Linked DNA regions of Homo sapiens: region 1 is linked to region 2. Evidence: promoter capture Hi-C in 16 types of primary human blood cells and fetal thymus (Javierre and others, 2016). All regions are on one chromosome and are shown on one strand. The core of a region is centred on a gene start or on the middle of the fragment in contact, and the rest is flanking DNA. Distances in the headings are between cores, read along the strand shown. Region 1 has its middle 12 kb from the start of RNF187. Region 2 holds the start of ZNF678 (zinc finger protein 678).

The links. The method cuts DNA at HindIII sites, captures the fragments that hold promoters and counts their contacts. A CHiCAGO score of 5 or more calls a contact.
Region 1: a fragment that was not itself captured here is called in contact with the fragment with the promoter of ZNF678 in region 2 in 1 of 17 cell types (total B cells); the score reaches 5.5 in total B cells.

Annotation. Positions count from the first base shown.
Region 1 is chr1:228,497,528-228,500,724 of GRCh38, reverse strand. No RefSeq gene overlaps it. Among named protein-coding and RNA genes, the nearest start is that of RNF187, 12 kb to the right of the region's middle. The HindIII fragment of the contact is 2,135 bases long and covers 667-2,801 here.
Region 2 is chr1:227,561,823-227,564,861 of GRCh38, reverse strand. ZNF678 (zinc finger protein 678) reads right to left here and starts at 1,306. Exons shown (of 4, transcript NM_001367909.1): 1 at 1,138-1,306. RefSeq lists an enhancer at 1,071-1,350. The HindIII fragment of the contact is 3,691 bases long and covers 775-3,039 here.

The sequences.
Region 1 (3,197 bases), core at 485-2,984, 940 kb before region 2:
TATCCCCTGGCACACAACAATACTGAAATTGGGCCAATTAATGACCCTATAATGGCCCCTAAGTGTTGAAGTGAAAGGAAGAGTCACACACCTCTCACTTTAAGGCAAAGGCTAGAGATGATCAATCTTAGTGAGGAAGGCACATCCAAAGCAGAAAGATGCTACTTGTGCCAAAGTCAGCCAAGCTGTGAATGCAAAGGAGAAGTTCTTGAAGGAAACTGAAAGTACTCCAGTGAACACACGAATGATAAAAAAGCGAAAGTCTTATTGCAGATATGCAGAAAGTGTGCACGGTCTGAATAGAAAATCAAACCAGCCACAACATTTCCTTAATCCAAAGCCTAATCCAGAGCAAGATCCTCTCTTCAATTCTATGAAGGTTGAGAGAAGCGAGGAAGCTGCAGAAGAAAAGCTTGAAGCTGGCGGGGGTTGGTTCATGCGGTTTAAAAAAAGAAGCCATCACTGTAACATAAAAATGCAAGGAGAAGCAGCAAGAGCTGATGAAGGCGCTGCAGCAAGTTCTCCAGCAGATCCAGCTAAGATCACTGATGAAGGGGGCCACACTAACAACGGATTTTCAATGCACACAAAACAGCCTTCTATTAGAAGCAGATGCCATCCAGAACTCTCATAGCTAGAAAGAAGCCAATGCCTGGCTCCAAAGCTTCAAAGGACAGGGTGACTCTCTTGTTAGGGGCTCATGCAGCTAGCGACTTCAAATTAAAGCCAATGCTCATTCACCAATTACAACAATTCTAAGGCCCTTAGGAATTATGTTCAATCTACTCTACCTGTGCTGTATAAATGAAACAACAAAGCCTACATGACAGCACATCTGTTTACTGCATGGTTTACTATTTTAAGTCCATTAAAATATTAAAATAGCCATTAACACAACATTCAAGTCTTATTAACTTTCAAGTTAACTTCCATAATTAACTTTCAAGTCTTATTATTTAAGACATTTCATAAGGCTACAGCTGCCTTAGACAATGATTCCTCTGATGGATCTGGGAGAAAATTTTTAAAAACCTGCTGGAAAGGATTCACCATTCTAGATGCCTTAAGAACATTCATGATTCATGGGAGGAGGTCAAAACAGCAACATGAACAGGAGTTTGGAAGATGTTGATTCCAGCCCTCATGGATGACTCTGAGCGATCCCGGACTTCAGGGGAGGAAGTCACTGCAGATGTGGTGGAAACAGCAAGAGAACGAGAATTGGAAGTGGAGCCTGGAGATGGGACTGAATTGCTGCAGTCTCATGAGAAAACATGAATGGATGACAAGTTGCTTCTTATGGATGAACAAAGGAAGTGTTTTCTTGAGATGGAATCTACTTCTGGTGAAGATGCTGTGCACACGGTTGAAATGACAACAAAGGATTTAGAATTGACATCAACTTAGTTGATAAAGCAGTGGCAGGGTTTGAGAAGAGTGACTCTAATTTTTAAAGATGTTATGTGGGTAAACTGCTATCAAACAGCAACACATGCTACAGAGAAGTCTTTTGAATGGAAGTCAATTGATGTGACAAACTTCATTGTCTTATTTTAAGAAATTGCCACAGCAACCCCAAACTCCAGCAGCCACCACCCTAATTAGTCAGCAGCCACCAACATTGAGGCAAGACCCTCCCCCAGCAAAAAGATGGCAATTCACTGAACACTCAGATGATCATTAGCATTTTTTAGCAACAAAGTATTTTAAAATTAAGGTACATACATTGGCTTTTTTAGACATAATGCTACTGCATACTTAGTAGACTACATTACAGCCTATAAAAGCATTTTATATGCACTTGGAAACCAAACATTTCATGGGACTTGCTTTATTGCAGTATTTGCTGTATTGCAATGGTCTAGAAGCAAACCCATGGTTTCTCCAAGGTATGCCTTTTAGTTTGACCCCAGACTGCACTCCAAAGCAGCGGCCTTATTCTACACTCCTCACAGCACCTCTGGGCTCACCTAATGTGCCATCATCACTCAGACTTCAACATCACCTAGTGCTGCAGTTCCCACCACCCGCCCGAACCACCCCCGCCCCAACCCACCCCGAGCTAAAGCAGTATCTCATTATGGTTTTAATTATGATTCTCCAGTTACTAAATAGTTTAAGCATCTCCTTATATTTTGCTGCTGTCAACCTCATGAAATAATAGCTACTCAGTTAGGTAATGTAGAAGGTAAAATGGCCCCAAGCATTTTTATCTCCTCTCTTTGGCCACAGGATCCTGAAACTGAAAACGACCTTTGGGTCCCAACTATCCACGGCTTTCCCACAAAGCTCTGAAAATAAGAGTTGAGAAAAAAGTATTGAGCTACTGGACAAATACATCAGTGTCTTGAGAATGTGTCCCCTACCTTCCAGCAAACAAACTGTTGCTTTTCTATGCAGTGCCTGGCCTCAGTTTCCTTCCACATGTCACCCACAGCCAGCCTCGGAGATCCTCCTGCCTAGGGCTGCCCTTGACCAGAGAGATCTGGTTGCAGCAAAGCCACAGGGACACCAGTGGCTCCTCAGAGCTTGCGTGGTCAAGGGCTGAGGAAGGGCGTCTGTTTCAAGCCATTTCTATAAAACACCCTGTGGGAGCAGACCTGAAGGAGAGGGGCAACCGCCACACAGGTATGGGGGAGAAATGTTCCCTGGAGATCAGAGGCCGAGGCAGGGCCCACCTGGCTTGCTGAAGAACAGAGAGGCCATCATGCTGGGTCTGCAGGGAGCAGGGGGCACAGTGGTGACGAGAGAGGAAGAGCTCGGGGTGGATTATGTAGCACTTCCCAGGCCACTGCGAAGCTTTCCCGGAATGAATCTGAGTTGCTGCAGGGCCTTGAGTACAGCAGGGGCAGGCTCTTGCTTAGTTTTTATTTTCATTGTTTTAATAAATTTCATTGTGTATATTTAAGGTATGCAACGTGATGTTACAAAGTACAAACAGATAGCAAAATGGTCACTACAGGGGAGCAATTAACATTCCCATCACCTCCCAGAGTCAACCACTTTTAGGATTTTGTGGCAAGAGCAGCTGAAGTCTAGTCATTTAGCAGGAACTCCCAAAACAGTGCAATTTTATTACCTACATTCCTCCTGTTGTACATCGGATCACCAGACTGGTTCATCCTACATATTTTAAAGTAGAAACCCATCTACCTGCTGGGTTGAGAATGCATTGTTGGAGCAGCGGGAGGAGATGA
Region 2 (3,039 bases), core at 57-2,556:
TACTCAGGAGGCTGAGGCAGGAGAATCGCTTGAACCCGGGAGGCAGAGGTTGCAGTGAGCCAAGATCGCGCCACTGCACTACAGCCTGGGCTACAGAGCGAGACTCCTTCTTAAAGAAAAAACAAAAACAAACAAAACAACAACAGCAACAACAAAGAGTGCCCTCCAATGTTCTGTGAAAAAATGATTAATTAAAATATTGTGCCTGGAGTACGCAATAAAAGACAAATAGCTGACAGTGTTGTGAACTGAAGAGGTGATGGTGGTTTTTATGAATTTTGGAAAGAAACTGAAAATTTAGTATTTTATTGCAGGCCAGAGTCAGGCTGGGAGAACAGAGGAGTGGATTTAAGACCCTGCTTTCCATGTTATTTGGAAAATGCAGGGGAAAAGCAGTCTCTTGTGCAGTGTTAAAATAATTAGCAGGCAATTAGACTGAGGTGGCTCTAGTGTCTTGCGTTTCTACATGAAAAAGAATATTAATAGCTCAAATGCATTTCTTGTTAATGACTGCCTTAAGTAGAAACAAAATCCAAGTTCAACCAATCACAAAACTCCAATTAATCAGTAATTAAATAACCAGGAAATTTCCACCTGGACAGTCCAAATAAGGTGACTGTAACTGTCGTCAATTATTAAATTTGGCTTGCTTCCTCATGCACCTTACAAAAAAGTTTTTCCTTCAAGCACCTCCTCCATAAACCCACAAGCCACACACCATAGCTGGGCGCTCTCCCATTCATGAAACTCCCTTTCCTCAAACTCTTCAAAGCTTTAAAAGTGACTCCATTTTTCACAGGAAAAAGGATGGACTGCACAGCTAAGATAAGCCCCATGGAACAGCTCTTCCCACGCATGTTTCGCACACCGATTTGGCTTCTCCCCGATGACCCTCCCCTCTGGACAAAGCACACAGTCTGGGGGACCCGCGGGGCTGCGGCTTCATAGCCGCCCAGAGAGGCCGGGGCGGAAGCCGCGGCGCAGTGATGGGAGGAGAATCCCGCGGCGGCCTGGCCCCGCCCCTACCCAGAGGTGACAGATCCCACAGGTGCCAGCCGGGACTCCGGGCCGCGGACTCTAGTGCTGACGCCGGGAGGCCGGACCGCCATCTTGGAACACCCTCCCGGGAACTCTCACCGTTTTCCGGCTTTCGGGGTGTCCTGGCATCTTAGCTATGTAACTCCCAGTACCTGCAGGTCACAGGGAAACCAGACACTGCAGCAGCAGAGTCACCAGGGCCTCCCGCAGCTGGGGATAAATAGCCGAGAATACGGGACCAAAGCTCCAGCTGGAGCACAAGACAAAGGCCCCGCCAGATCCCGGAAACCCCCTCCGCCTCTCAAGCTGCGCTCCTGATTGGACAGTTCCCACGTCAATGTCCCTGATTGGACAGGGCTCCAGGACCCGCCTCCTTTGGTTATGAGTGACAGGAGATGAGGTCAGCAAAGGGGTTGAATGAGACTATTAACAAAATGGGCAATTTTTTTTGTATCCTTCCAAAATTGTTCCATGTCTTTCCATGCATACCATCTTTAATAAAGGGCGCACTCTTAAGCCAATCTGCAATCTCTGTTCCTGAGTGTCTAAACAACGTCATCATCATCTTCTGTTGGAGAAAAACCTGAAGATGAGTTTTCCTCCCAAAGCACAGAACAGTCAGAAGCCGAGGCGTGCTTGGGAATGCTGGCGGGTGGAAAGGGGAGGCGCATTCCGGTGCGCCTGTGGAACTGTCCTTGCAAGCAGGACCCAGGTCCAGAACAGCTATGCAATGCATGTGTTTCTGACCAAAGGGGGCCTGCTGTCCACCCGCCTCTTCTGCTGGGCAGGGCAGCGCATGGTTGGGGTATTTACACCCAGGCAGGTGTCCCAGGCCAGTCCCCTGTCAACCCATCATAATAAAAAAGTCAGAATCTATTTTCAAAAGTATATTCAAAAGCATATGTTTAGGATACCTACCTGAGAGCATAGACTAAAGTTGCCCTGATTATACATTCCAACTAGTAACCATTACAAGTGGGTTTTAAGAAAAGAGGCAGTTCCTAAAATTTTCATCAAAAATTTACATTAAAATCCAGAAGTCACTGACTGGCTATACATTGTTCTTTGTATCACAAATTCCAGATGAGACAGCTAGTTAGGAACAACATACCTTTAAACAATTGCCCCTGGGAAAGGGTGTGGAGATGTGTCTCAAATCCCATACTCAAGTCTCTCTGGGCCAGAAAAATCTTCCGTACCTCACAGAGCTTCAGCTACTTAGAGCTATTCTTTTCTTATCTCCATAGTCAGTACACTTGGACCCTTAACAAGAAATAAGTTCAAACAGAAAATTTGCCAAGCCACAGGAATAATGGCCTGTCAGTGCCCTTCAGGAAGCTGATTGTCACTTTCCTTCAACACCCTTTCCACAGCTTCCCCCCAACACACACACCCTGGATCCCGGGAGAGAGGGGCTGAGACGCACCCAGACACACCTCGCTGCCCCTCCTGCAAACATACACCCACACACAGACACACAGACAAAGACACAGACACAGGCAGCTTGAAGGAGAGCAAGAGAGAGGGATGGAGACATAGAAACGGAGGGAGAGAAAGACAGTGATAGAGAGGCAGAGTGAGTCAGGATTGAGAGAGAGAGAGAGAGAGAGAAGGCTACAGAAAGAGCACGAGGTGGAGGGGGAAGAAGAAGAGAGAGGATGAGGGACTTACAGAGCCATAGAGCCTTGGAGAGGGAGTGTTCTGCTCCGGTAGACAGGGCCCCTTTGAGCAGGACAGGGTAGGGTGGAGGGTGCTTGGGCTGGGCCAGAACAGGGTGGAAGGGCTAACGGAGTGACCCAACAGAGCCCTGAGACGTATTTTTTGTTGGATTGGTTGCTTTGGTGGTGCGTTTCATAGGACTTTTCCTTTGTTGGCTCCTCCCTGTCCTCTTGGTGCGGTGGGCCCCGAGATTTGTAGAGTGCAACCGTCCCTCTAGCGAGAGCTGTGGCACCGAGCATGCCCACGGGGCAGAGGCCTGGGTCTGTCTCGTGTCCTCCGGAA